Linked DNA regions of Homo sapiens: region 1 is linked to region 2. Evidence: promoter capture Hi-C in human tissues and cell types (Jung and others, 2019). All regions are on one chromosome and are shown on one strand. The core of a region is centred on a gene start or on the middle of the fragment in contact, and the rest is flanking DNA. Distances in the headings are between cores, read along the strand shown.

The links. The method cuts DNA at HindIII sites, captures the fragments that hold promoters and counts their contacts. A contact is called where the count stands out against the background at its distance.
Region 1: a fragment that was not itself captured here is called in contact with the fragment with the promoter of VPS39 in region 2 in 1 of the 25 tissues and cell types used here (lymphoblastoid cells).

What each region holds. Positions count from the first base shown.
Region 1 is chr15:42,648,634-42,656,334 of GRCh38, forward strand. STARD9 (StAR related lipid transfer domain containing 9) reads left to right here. Exons shown (of 33, transcript NM_020759.3): 8 at 2,383-2,452; 9 at 3,887-3,959. Among named protein-coding and RNA genes, the nearest start is that of STARD9, 77 kb to the left of the region's middle. The HindIII fragment of the contact is 8,421 bases long and covers 984-7,701 here.
Region 2 is chr15:42,202,629-42,209,638 of GRCh38, forward strand. It overlaps VPS39 (VPS39 subunit of HOPS complex), which reads right to left and starts at 5,676. Exons shown (of 25, transcript NM_015289.5): 1 at 5,453-5,676. The coding sequence starts at 5,525. It overlaps VPS39-DT (VPS39 divergent transcript), which reads left to right and starts at 5,773. Exons shown (of 3, transcript XR_932181.3): 1 at 5,773-6,056; 2 at 6,136-6,289. The HindIII fragment of the contact is 8,677 bases long and covers 596-7,010 here.

The sequences.
Region 1 (7,701 bases), core at 3,944-6,443, 450 kb after region 2:
GTTTATTATGGTCTACTTATGGGTAGATTTAGGTTTTTAAAAAATCATGCTGGGATTCTTGAATTGTGCTTTTGTATCTTCTTATCAGTTTTGGAAAGTTCTTAGCCATTACCTTTCCCTTTTTTCCCCCCTTCCCTCCACTACCATTACCTCTTATAATAATCCTTCTATCCCATTCTTTCCTCTTCTTTTGGGACTCTAATTACAGGTATGTTAAGGCCTATTGCCTGTATACTCTGTGAGTCTTACCATTTCTTCTATATTTAATTAATTAATTTATTTATTAGACATGAAGTCTTGCTAATGTTGCCCAGACTGGTTTTGGACTCCTGGGCTCAAGGGATCCTCCTGCCTCAGCCTCCCAAGTAGCTGAGATTACAGGTGTGCACACCTAGCCTCCATTTTTTTTTCTTTGAGATGGAGCCTCGCTGTGTTGCCCAGGCTGGAGTGCAATGGCGCAATCTCAGCTCACTGCAACCTCCACCTCCTGGGTTCAAGCGATTCTCTTGCCTTAGCCTCCCGAGTAGCTGGGATTACAGTCGCGCACCACCACAGCCGGCTGATTTTTGTATTTTCATGAGAGACGGGGTTTTACCACGTTGGTCAGGCTGGTCTTGAACTCCTGACCTCATGATCCACCCGCCTCAGCCTCCCAAAGTGTTGGGATTACAGGCGTGAGCCACTGCACCCGGCTCCCTCCATATTTTTAATCTTTTGTCTCTCTGTGCTAAATTTTGAGTATGTTTCTGATCTATCTTCCTGCTCACTCATTCTTTCTTCAGCTATGTCTAACCTGCTATTAAACTTTATATTGAGTTTTTATTTTCACTTACAGTATTATTTCTCAGATATCCATTTTATTATTTCATTATAGTTTCCAAGTTTACAATCTTGTCTTTAAACTCCTTGAAAATATTAAGCAGAGTTACTTTTTTTTTTTTTTGAAACGAAGTTTTGCTCTTATCGCCCAGGCTGGGGTGCAATGGTGAGATCTTAGCTCACTGCAACCTCTGCCTCCTAGGTCCAAGTGATTCTCCTGCCCCAGCCTCCTGAGTAGCTTGGACTATAGGCTCCCGCTACCATGTCCAGCTAATTTTTTGTATTTTTAGTCGAGGTGGGGTTTCACCATCTTGGCCAGGCTGGTCTTGGAACTCCTGACCTCATGATCTACCTGCCTTGGGCTCCCAAAGTAGTACTGGGATTACAGGCATGAGGCACCGAGCCTGGCCTTTTTTTTTTTTTTTTTTTTTGAGATGGAGTTTCGCTCTTGTTGCCGAGGCTGGAGTGCAATGGCGCGATCTCGACTCTCCACAACCTCCGCCTCCCAGGTTCAAGGGATTCTCCTGTCTCAGCCTCCCGAGTAGCTGGGATTACAGGCATGCACCAACACACCCAGCTAATTTTGCATTTTTAGCAGAGACAGGGTTTCTCCATGTTCGCCAGGCTAGTCTCAAACTCCTGACCTCAGGCCCGCCCGCCTCGGCCTCCCAAAGTGCTGGGATTACAGGCATGAACCACAGTGCCCAGCCTTCAGGGTTACTTTTAAGTCGGCCTGGTAGCTTCAGTATCTGGGTCTTTCTTGGATTGCTTTCTATTGACTATTATTTTTGTTGGTTTCATTTATGTTACTTTGTTATTTTGGGTGTAATTGTATTTAGCAATAAGCCCATGAAGTTACTTTGTTTTTGAATCTCTCATACAGAGATTCTCTGGAACAGTTGGGAAGGCCTTTGGGACTTGGTCAGTAACCAGCCATGAAGATTTACTTTCATGCCCGTAGGCTCCTCTTCACCTATCTAAAGCCTCCCCATTCTATAGTGGCTAAATTTAAGTCTCACTTCTTCTGTGGAACCTGTCCTGACCACGCCTCTGATCTCCTCATCATGTATCATCTTTCCAACTCCTGTGGCACTTGGCCATATTGTCTTGTGTAGTGTAACTTACCATGATTGTAAACTGTGGGAGGACAGAGATGAGTGTACTGTGTATTTTGTATGCCAAACCGAGTCTGCCACCTTGTGGGGAAAACAACACTGGCCTACCTCAGGGACTTTGTGAGGGCCAAATGAGAACAGTTCTTATAACCTATATAGCAGAACTGTAAGGAATTATAGTTGTTGTTAGCATATGGTCTATATGACTTATAGACCATAATCTCTGTGAGGACAGAGACCTATATTCCTAGAGTCTATCATATACCTGACAAGAGGTTTCCAATAAATATTTCTTGATTTAATTTATTATCTGAATGAATTTGGCCAGATTCCCTCATTTTTGTCTATTAAACAATATGAAATAGGAATGATAAAGACTTACAAGAAAAGGTTAAAGTTTACCAAAAATCTCATTTAATTTCTTTTTTCCGTTTCACAAATCCGATAGGTTTATCTCAACATGTAGTTACCAATTATAAGCAAGTAATCCAACTCTTGGAGGAGGGAATTGCAAACAGGTAACAGGTTTGTTTGTTTCTGTCATTCTTTTATCCTCACACTCCTATCCTGTGTTCCCATTTCCCTTTGGGGAGTGTATAATGACACTTAAAATTGTCTCTGTGTGTAGAGATGTTCACAACCAGGAGGCTCTTCCCAGAACAATAGTGTTCACAGGGTAAGGGGTGGTGACTAAGATTTAGTCTCTTCTCACTAGTAATGAAGCTGGAATCTGTTCTGGACATAATAATATTAGGCAGTAAGCCCAAGGAAGTTACTCTATATTTTGTTTAGAGCTTCTAAATTTGGAAGAAAGGGTTCTTACCTGCATTGTCCTCTCCTCAGGTTTGATAGATATAAGGATGAATATAGTGTAAAAGGTTCATAAAAACATTTTTTTCTAGTTTTGCATACTTATAAGGTAGCCCCTCAAAAGACTGTTTTGAATCTGCTATGAATAACTAGGTGCTGTAGATTCCCCTAAAAGCTATTGTAAATTGTAATAACATTTCATGTTGTAAGTTACTATGAAATACCTAGAATATTACTAGTAAATGTCCCTAAAAAAGGCTTTTTTTTTCTGGGGTAAAAAGGTCTTTAGAGCCTTCTATTTATCCTGTTAATAGCAGGACCAAGTTAATTGAACATAAAGGAAGAAATTTAAATTTAACATTCTCCTGAGCTTCATGGAACTCTCCTGGAGACACTTACTTCTGGTCTTCAGGGTACCCTGAGCTCCATGATTTTTCAGTGTCAGGCTTGAATCATGAGACTAGCCTCTAGATTTTGGCCCTTTTCTTCAATTCTCCAGATCCTCTGAGAACAGAGCTCAGTGAGATGCTCTTAGATAAAGGAAAACCTCTCCTGACTTTAAGGGTTAACACTGTAATGGATTTCTAAGGGAGACTGTGAATTCCGCCTGGCTTAAGCATGATATTGATGTGATTTAAGATCTCATTTCCAAGATCTTTCTGACACTGTAGAATTAATATTCTGTGTTTAATCAAAACTTACCTTCTCTGTCTTTGAGGTATCTTCTCTAGCAAGCTTTCTACATCCACTTGTCTTATTAAAATGACTCCAAGAATAAAATAAAATAAAGTGAAAGAATAAAATAAAATGGGTCTATCTTGGGCATGTTCTTCCAGGATGATGACGCTCTAGTCTTCATTTCCCTTTTCACTTGAATTTTTGCTTCTATTGCTTAAAAAAAAAAAGTTTCAGTGTAGTTTAGTATGAAGCTACACTCCGTTTTATGCTCAGATATCAGCACCTAGAGTGCTGCTTCTGCCCTCTTTGGACTATTCTCTTCACGATACTGGACTAAATATGTGTGTTTTATGATTCTTGTCGGTGAACCTCAGCACTAACATTTCTTGTATTCTGTATGGATCCTTAAGAATCCACCATGTGTAAACAATCCTCGTCCTAACAGTTTTTCCTTGTATACACAGAATCACAGCAGCCACCCATGTTCATGAGGCCAGCAGCAGATCCCACGCCATTTTCACGATCCACTACACGCAGGTTGGTAACTCCTTATGTTTGGTGAGATTTCTTCCTCTCCTTGTACCTTTAAACCACTTTCTTGTCTTCCTTCCTATTTCTTTTTTTGTTTGTTGGTTTTTGAGACAGGGTCTCAGTCTGTTGCCCAGACTGGAGTGCAGTGGCGCGATCTCGGCTCACCTGAACCTCTGCCTCCCAGGCTCAAACAATTCTCCTGCCTCAGCCTCCCAAATAGCTGGGATTACAGGAGACGCCACCATGCCCGGCTAATTATTTTTTAATTTTTAGTAAAGACGGGGTTTCACCATGTTGGCCAGACTGGTCTCAAACTCCTGACCTCAGATGATCCACCTGGCTCGGCCTGCCTAAGTGCTGGCATTACAGATGGGAGCCATCGTTCCCGGCCCTGTTTCTTTTCCTTTCCTCCTACTCTCATATTTATAGGTCCTCTGATAGAACCTAATATTGTAAACCGGATTTACACACAATCCGTTAAGCTATACACCTAGAATGGGTAGAAGCATTTTATAAAGACTAATCAAAATATCTTCTGCTTATATTTATTTTTAACATTTTAAAACGCTTTCACATCGGTGTGATCAGTATGGACATTTAAAACAAAAGGTTGAAAAGAAAATAAGCATTAAAATGAAATATTAGAAGATTCACTTCCATTGTGATGGATTGAGGAGGTCAAGTCATATCCCCAAAAAGCAACTATAAAGCTGGACAAAATCCTTTCTGTGGTCTGAAAATAGATTAAAGGAATGTAACAAAGTGAGAAGTACCACACCCAAAATAAAATGATGACTAAAAACTTCCTAAATTTGTTGAAAATCATTTATAGATCTAAGAAGCTCAAAGGACTCCAAGTAAAATAAACACAAAGAGATCCACACCTAGACACATCATAGTTAAACTGTTGAAAGACAAAGAGAAAATCTTAAAAACAGCTAGAGAAAAGTGACTTATACAGTAGAACAATTACGTGATGAATGGCTGACTTCTCATCAGAAGCATTGAACCCTTAGAAGTCAGGGGGCTGAGATAATATAAAAAACTGGCAATAAGAACATTCCCAGATTGGAAAAATAAAAAGTAGAATTTATTGCCAGCAGACTTACCTGACAAGAAAACTAAATGAAATCTTCTAGGCTGAAAGAAAGTGATATTAGAAAGTATCTTAAATCTATAGGAGACAGTGAAATATCTGGGAATGATAAATGTGTGAGTAAATATAAAAAAAACCTACATTCTTTCTCGTTTCTTCTCCTAATGTCAATAAAAGAATAAGATTACATAAAACCACAATTGTAACAATGCATTTTTGTACATTGTCATATATGAAAATAACAGCACAAGGGAAATGAAAGGAGATATATTTAAGTAGAGTTACTATATTTTACAGGAATTAAGTTAGTATTATTTTAAAGTAGATCATAAATAAAGATATGTATTGTAATCTGTAGAGCAAGTACTAAGAAAATAGCTCAAAAATACAATTTTAAAAATCAACATTTCTTCTGCCTCCTCTGGGCAGAAAAAACAACAGAAATTAAAATGGTACATATTAATAAAAATACCTAACAGTTAAAGGCAGTGGAGGAAGAACAGAGGAACAAAGGAGATATGAGACACAGAAAAAAGAAAAATCAGACATGGATGGTTCTGAGCACATCAATAATTATTAAATACATTAAGTGTGAATTGCCTAAGGTACAAATTTTCAGATTGCATAAAAGCAAGACCCAACTACATGCTGTCTATAAGAAACACACCTTAGAATCACAGACACAGGTTGAAAGTAAAAGGATGGAAAAAGATATACCATAATAATAGTAACCATAAGTCCTAGCTAGAGTAATGAGACAAGAGAAAGAAATAAAGGGCATCCAGATCAGTAAAGAGGAAGTCAAACTGTTGCTGTTCGCTGACAACATGATTGTATACCTAGAAAACCCTAAAGACTTATCCAAAGAGCTCCTGGAACTGGTAAATGAATTCAGCGAAGTTTCAAGATACAAAATTAATGTACATGAATCAGTAGCTGTGCTATACACCAGCAGCAGACAAGCTGAGAATCAAATCAAGAACTCAACATTTTTTACAATAGCTGAAAAAAAAAAATACTTAGGCATACACTTAACCAAGGAGGTGAAAGACCTGTACAAGAAGAACTACAAAACACCGCTGAAAGAAATCATATATGACACAAACAAATGGAAACATATCTCATGCTCATGGATGGGTAGAATCAGTATTGTGAAAATGGCCATACTGCCTAAAGCAGTCTACAAATTCAATGCAATCCCCATCAAAATACCACCATCATTCTTCACAGAACTAGAAAAGACAGTCCTAAAATTCATATGGAACCAAAAAAGAGCCCACATAGCCAAAGCAAGACTAAGCAAAAAGAACAAATCTGGGCCAGGCGCAGTGGCTCATGCCTGTAATCCCAGCACTTTGGGAGGCCGAGGCAGGCGGATCACTTGAGGTCAGGAGTTTGAGACCAGCCTGGCCAACATGGTGAAACCCCTCTCTACTAAAAATAGAAAAAATTAGCTGGGCGTGATGGCAGGCACCTGTAATCCCAGCTATTCGGGAGGCTGAGGCAGGAGAATTGCTTGAACCTGGGAGGCAGAGGTTGCAGTGAGCTGAGATCACACCGCTGCACTCCAGCCTGGGCAACAGAGTGAGACTTCGTCTCAAAAACAACAACAAAACCAAATCTGGATGCATTACATTACCCAACTTCAAACTATACTATAAGGCCAATAGTTACCAAAACAGCATGGTACTGGGACAAAAACAGGCATATAGACCAATGGAACAGAATAGAAAATGCAGAAATAAAGCCAAATACTTGCAGTCAACCGATCTTTGACAAAGCAAACAAAAACGTAAAGTGGGGAAAGGACACCCTATTCAACAAATGGTGCTGGGATAATTGGCAAGCCACATGTAAGAGAATGACACTGGATCCTCATCTCCCACATTATACAAAAATCAACTCAAGATAGATGAAAGACTTACATATAAGACCTGAAACCATAAAAATTCTAGAAGATAACATTGGAAAAATCCTTCTAGACATTGGCTTAGGCAAAGACTTCATGAGCAAGAATCCAAAAGCAAATGCAACAAAAACAAAGAGAAATAGATGGGACTTAAATAAAACAAAAATCTTCTGCACAGCAAAAGAAATAATCAGCAAACAGCCCACAGAGTGGGAGAAAATATTTGCAATCTATGCATCCTACGAAGGACTAATATCCAGACTCTACAAGGAACTCAAACAAATCAGCAAGAAAAAAACAGTCCCATCAAAAAGTGGGCTAAGGACATGAATAAACAGTTCTCAAAAGAAGATATACAAATGGCAACAAACATAGGAAAAAAATGCTCAACATCACTGATTATCAGGGAAATGCAAATCAAAATCACAATGCAATACCACCTTACTCCTGCAAGAATGGCCATAATAAAAAAATCCAAAAAGAGGCTGGGTCAGTGGCTCACGCCTGTAATCCCAGCACTTTGGGAGTCTGAGGCAGGTGGATCACCTGAGGTCAGGTGTTCAAGACCAGCCTGGCCCACATGGCGAAATGCTGTATCTACTAAAAATAAAAAAATTTGCTGTTGCGCTCCTGTAGTCCCAGCTACTCACGAGGCTGAAGCTGGAGAATTGCTTGAACCTGGGAGGCAGAGGTTGCAGTGAGCCGAGATCATGCCACTGCACTCCAGCCATCTCCTAAAAAAA
Region 2 (7,010 bases), core at 4,426-6,925:
TTCCCCATCCTTCTCTCTCCACTCTGTCCCCCAAATCCCTGCCAGTTCCTGCTTTTCTTTATCTTTTTTAATAGCCTCAGCTTCCTCCCAAGTCGGCCAGGGTCTATCAATTCTACCTGTAATGGTACCTCATGACAGCCTCCTCCTATAGAGTCTCTCTGGGGACCCCTGTGACACCTTCAACTGGTCTCATTCACTCCATGCATTCTCTCGCATTTGCTGTCAGTTATCTTAGAGCAGATCTCTGATGCTGTCACACTGGGGCTTAAAAAATCCTGTGAAGCTACACTACCAAAATATGAAGTCAAATTCCTAAACATGACATTCAAGAGTCTATTTTCCATTTTTATTGAAATGTTTCTTGCCAATAGATTTTTTAATTTACTTTTTTTTTTTCTTGTGAACCCAAACTAAGACATGACAAAACATTTTAAAAAGTCAAATGTCTAGGGGCCGGGCACGGAGGCCGAAGTGGGCGAATCACTGGAGGTCAGGAGTTTGAGACTAGCCTGGCCAACATGGTGAAACCCCGTCTCTACTAAAAAATATAAAAATTAGGCCGAGTGTGGTTGGCTCATGCCTGTAATCCCAGCACTTTGGAAGGCCAAGGCGGGCAGATCACCTGAGGTCAGGAGTTCAAGACCAGTCTGGCCAACACAGTGGAAACCCATCTCTACTAAAAATACAAAAAAAATTAGCCAGGCATGGTGGTGTGTGTGCCTGTAATCCCAGCTACTCAGGAGACTGAGGCAAGAGAACTGCATGAACCCCGGAGGGAGAGGCTGCAGTGAGCTGAGATCGTACCACTGCACTCCAGCCTGGGTGACGGGGCAGGACTCTGTCTCAAAAAAAAAAAAAAAATTAGCCAGGTGTGCTGGTGAGCACCTGTAATCCCAGGTACTAGGGAGGCTGAGACAGGAGAACCACTTGAACACTGGCGGCGGAGGTTGCAGTGAGTGGAGATTGTGCGCCATTGCACTCCAGCCTGGGTGACAAGTGTGAAATTCTGCCTCCAAAAAAAAAATTAATTAAAAAAATAAAATGTCTATTCTACTGGTCATAAAAGGGAATCAATCCGATGGATTAAATTCTCTGTAAACTTTTAAATCAACCTGATTGATTACATGTGCCATTAGCCAGAGGACCTGTCCCATGTTGGGTCCTCCACTCTCTAGGACACGTTATTTAACAAAGCTGTGCATGCACAACACAGAGGATGACAAGCCTGCAGAGCACGCGCAGCATGGGATGGACAGTGCCTTCTGAGACTCAATACAGTAACACACAACAGAAAGTGAGACATACTAAGCAAACACAAAACGCACACATAAGCAAAGCAGTATCAGCCCTAAAAAACTCCTGACGGCCTAACCCTGAGCCACAAGGTTGGACTTAATTCCTCCTGAGAAGGAGGGCTAGGCCCTATTGCTCATAATTACCCTAATGGAGCTCCTTCCAACAGTGCAATGCAGTCCAACTTCATGTAATAAATTCCATTTCTGGCCCAATGCTGGCCACTGCAGGGACCACAAAGATAAGTAAGATAGTAGTCACTTCCCTTCGTTGGGTAACATGGCAAATAACAGTACTTCTCATCTGGGCATAAGCCCCCAATTAGCTGCATTAGAATCACCTGGACTTATTAAAAATGCACATTCCTGGGCCCTGCACATGGAGATTCAGATTCAATGGCTTTGAAGTGGTACCCTGAAATTTACATTTTAAAATTTAATCTTGTTGGCTGGGCAAAGTGGCTCACGCCTGTAATCCCAGCACTTTGGGAGGCCGAGGTGGGCGGATCACCTCAGGTCAGGCGTTTGAGACCAGCCTGGCCAACATGACGAAACCCCGTCTCTACTAAAACTACAAAAATAAGCCAGGTATGGTGGTGGGTGGCAGTAATCCTAACTACTCGGGAGGCTGAGGCACGACAGTGGCTTGTACCTGGGAGGCAGAGGTTGCAGTGAGCTGAGATTGCACCACTGCACTTCAGCCTGGGCGACAGAGCGAGACTCAGTCTCAAAAAATAATAATGAAATAAAATAAAATAAAATAAAATTAAATTAAATTTTATTTGTTTTTATGAAACATTCATGTAGTTCCAAAGCTAAAACGACGAAAAGTCTAGTTTCTATCATTGTCCATTTTATCCTCTCTTCTCCCTTCTGCTATGGGCATCATTTTAGTAATTTTTGACTTATCTTTCCATTGTTTCTCTGGAAAATATAGGTATGTATGTATATATAGACATACAGATACTCATATATACATGTGAAGTCTGCATTTTTTACAGGCTTTGAATATACATTCAAGTTTGAGAACCAGGCTCTAGAAGCAGACATGATTTACAGGACATGTGACCTTGGAAAAATTTCTTAAATTTTCTAAGCCTTAGGTCTTTCTTCTGTAAAATGGAGTCTTATTTTATAAAAGCCTAATACAGATTAGCATTTAACAACTGCAAGCTATTACTATTCATATTAACATTATTCATTAAATATATATTTAATGAATACCCATTGAGTCAGGAAATGTTTTAGGTACTGCAGATATAGCAATGCAGAAAACAAAGATACTGCCCTGAGGGAACTTATATTCTAATGTGGAGTGAGAGAGGCAATAATAATTAAATATATAAAATAACAGTAGATGGTGACCCATGATTAGAAGATAAGGCTAAGAAAACAGCACATTGGTGGATGTGGCAATCTCTTTTATATAGGATACACAGGGAAGGTTTTGCTGATTTGGGTGACATTTCAGCAGAGAACTGAGTGAAATGAGGAATGAACCATATATACAAAGGCAAGTGAGTGCCAGGCCAAGGAAACAGCAAATGTAAAGGCCCTGAGGTGGGTATGTGCTTTGTGCATTGATGGAACAAAGAAGGCTGTGTGGGACTGGTACCAGAAAGGAGTGAGAGGTAAGTACACAGAAGACAGGGAAGAAATCAGGGCCTGATCATGTCAGATGTTGCCAGACAGGGTGAAAACTTTGGAACTTATTCTAGTTGTGATGTGATACCATGAGAGGGTTTTGAGTAGAGGATGGAATCAGATTTAGGTTTTCAAAGTTTCACTCTACCTGGTAGACAAAAAACTGAAAATGGCACACTGGCAAATATAGGGTGATCAATGAGAAGACTACTACAGTAATTCAGGTGACAGATGATGGTGCCTTCAAGAGTAGTAATCATCAAGATAGAGAGAAATGACTGGATTTCAGATTTATTCTAGGGGTAGAACACACAAGATTTGCTGATAGATGGGATACAGTGTAAAACAGAATGAAAGAAGTCAAGAACGATTCCAAAGCTTTTGGCTTTAGTCAAAGAGGTAAATAGAAATGCCACTTGCTGAGACGTAAGATACAGGAGGACAGGCATGTTTGAGGGGAGAGGAATCAAGAACGGTTTTGGCTATGCTACTGGACATCCAAATGAAGATGCTGAAAAGGCAGCAGGATTATACAACTTTGGAGTTTAGAAAGAAATCATCCTCATCATGTTCTCTCCTGATTTCTATTTCCCAGGAGACAGAGTATGTTGTCTCTAAGACATTTACACCTCAAATACTATTTGGCCCTGTGTGACCTGCCTCTGGAAGTTCCTGGACGAACTTTCCATCCAAAGGCACAATGTAGTTAAAAAGGGGTAATGACTAGAAAGAGCAATAATTACTGCTGCTCAAATCTGGAAATAAAGCACTTTTGAAGCAGGAGGCAGTTAATGGCCTCTTGTAACCTAATATGTACCTAAGCACCTTAGGAACCAAAGAGCATTTCTCCTGTTCGGTGGGTGATCAAGGAAGGCCAAAAGCTACCTATTGTTTCAAAACTGTGTTCCTGAAAACCACAGGTGCAAGGAATCTTTACTGTGACAAAGTGGAGTTGGTGAGAGTCTAGGAGCACTATGTGCTAATGGTCCAACAGGAGATCAGAGTCAAGGATTCTGACGAGCTAAGTCAAGTGTAGCCACAGCTGCATTAATCCCTTTCAGAAACATATGTCCTTAGCTGAGTTGGGTACCCCCTCATCCATGTTGCAATAATAGGCAGCATATGTCTCTAGTATTATAATCTGTTCACGTGTATTTGTCCCCCAGTGTGTGTCCTAGGAGCACAGGCACTGTTTCTTATTCATCATTGTATTACTGTCCCAAGCAAAGAGAATGGCCCGTGTAGCCACCTAATAAGTATATCTGATGAAGCAATGGGGGAATTAATCCTTTCATGCAGTGTCAGGTCTTTCATTTAAAAACTTTTTCTCCTCCTCTATTTAAATGTTTAATGAGAGCATTTAATGACAGAAATTGGTTTTCTTGAGATGTCTGGAGGAAGTAGGATTCTCCTCTTAACCCAAAGGACTAGAACTGCTTACTGTGGAGGTATGATTTTAAAGAGACCCAGAGCTGCTAAAGGAGGAAGGGTGCACATTAACATGAAAATTCTTCGTGAAAGAACCCTACAGAAGAAGTCATCAAGAACTCTGCAAGGATGACTCGGTGACACTGTGAACAGCTGACGCACATGGTATCAGACACCACCAAGATTCCATAAGGCCCATCATGGTTACCTATCTAGCTCAGTATAAGATCTGATTAAGGGATCTGAATCATCTTTTTATGGTCCTTGATTTCTAGGACCTAAACATTAAGAGGAAAGTTAGAAATGATTTCCTTGGTCTTTGGCGGCTGGTATCAAACCAGTCACTCACGGATAAGAGCACAATGTTCACCGTTATCCCTGAAACCTTCATTTGTATTTCAGAGCACACAAGAGATGTCTGTCCCGGCCTTCTGCACTAGTCAATCCCAAAAGGACTATGCTAGTTTTTATGGGTTAGGTTTCAAGACAGTCTGGAAACTCTTCCGCCTACAGTTAGGTAACTTGGACACTTTGGATATAAGGTAATCAACCGCTTGGCTAGATTCAAAGGTTAGCTAACTACATGAGTTCCCTACAGGAATGAGAAATGAACGAATGATCACTAAGGGGAAAAAAAAGCATATGGTGTTAACTTGTTCAATGCCCCCAAAACCAGGGTTGACTTTCATCTAGAAAACAACACAAACATCTGGACAACTTCAAGCCCCTGGCAGGCTGAGAACTTCTTACTGCTTTGACCCTCTAAAATGAAGTCTTCGTGGGAATCAAAATGGGCCAAAGCTGAGCACAACTAAAAAGGAAAGCTCATCCTCCCACTCTGCACAGAGAGCAAAAGCAAGGGGAACTCCCCTAAATGACTGGATCACTGGGATCACCCAAGTAGCCCCACAGACATCGATGTCTATAGCCGGTGGTCATCTCTCTGCCTTCTCTCATCCTAAGCCCCTCTCGTGTAGCATCCAACCGAAGCCCACACGGATGGACGCCTGTCCACTTCCCCGGCCTCAGAAAAGATCCGGACCGCTCCTGTGCTGACTCCGCCTCGGCCCCGCGGCCCCTCGGCTCACCCCAGGCAGCCAGACAGTCGATTTGCAGAGGCAGCTTTTCTAGGATCGGCACTGGCTCGAAAGCGTCGTGCATGGCGGCAAGGGGAGAGTTGCCACCGCCGTCTCGCCCAGAGTGTTCCGGGCCGGGCTGGGGTCCGGAACGAGTCTGGGCTAAGGGTAGACCGGGATCCGGCCAGGAACCCCCCGGCTACAGGCCCTTCAACAACACAGCCATCGTCAACCCCGGACTTCCTGCTAGTTAGGCCCGCCTCTTCCGCAGCCGAAGTCCCGCCCCTTCCTCCCGGTGCACTCTAAATGAATTGTTTTGTTGCTGAGTTGCCATCGTCACTCTGGACCCATAGCTACTCCATCCCGAGTAGCCATGGGCTTACCATAGAAGGAACAAACTCTTAATCTTAGAACTGCTTTAGGCAGTGGGCGTGATGGTTAAAAACTCGGCCTTTGGCGTCGACCTCAGACGGAGATCTACCAATTAGGAAATTAGCTGTGATTTAGAAAATTTAATATTTCGATGCCATACTTTCCTAATCTGCAAAATTTTTGTAAATACCTGTGACCTAGTGTCGTGAGCGCTTAGCAACACCTGACACCCACTAAGCTCTCAGTAAGTGGTAGCTTTAGTATTACCATTATATCCCAATTAGTACAAGCACCTTACCTTAATGCTTTCATGGTTGTTCTAGGCCAGTGGTTCTGAAAGTGGTTCTAGACCAGCAACAACAGCAGTAGCAGCAGCACCTGTGAACTTGTTAGAAATGCAAAGTTTCAGGCCCATTCCAGTTCTACTGAATCTGAAACTCGAAGGGAACAGCAACCTATGTTTTAATAAACCCCAAGGTGAGTCCATGCACTTAAAAGCTTGAGAACCACCATTTTAGGTTAGGGTTGTTCAGCGATAGCACTACCGGCATTTAGGACAGGATAATTTCTTGTTGGGGGAGGGGGCATGTTCTGTACAATGTAAGATGTTTAACAGCATCCCTAACTTCCACCCACCAAATGCCAGTTATCTTCCCCACAGAGGTATAAAAATGTCTCTTTTCCGTATGTCCTCTGGGAGGCAAAATTACCCTGAGAACCACCATTTGAGGCCAATGCTTTTCAAATTTAACGTGCATACAAATCACCTAGAGACATTGTTAAAATGCCTCTTTTGATTCAGTAGGACCAGAGTAAGACCCTCAGTTGAGCACCAAAAATCTCCCAGATGTTGCTGGTCCCTGGATCACATTTTGAGTAGCAAGAGTTTAGGCAAGAGATGATTCACTAACTCTTGGAAGTCAGTGAAATAAGCCTCCTTTTAATTTGATGACCACATTCCTACCAATTCAACTTTCCAAAGCTGTGTCTTACATCCTAATATTCCTTTAGGAAGGTGTCATGGCTTTTCCTCCTATAGGACCTGGGACCTGTACTGTCTGCGGTTACCTTAGTATTCCCCTTGAAGACTTAAAAAACAACAAAGTTTGGGCTGCAAGAATGATCTATATCTGGTCATTTCCCCCTAGGAAAACATCGTAGGTCAAAAAATTAAGCATTTGGGTTTAAAGCAAAAATG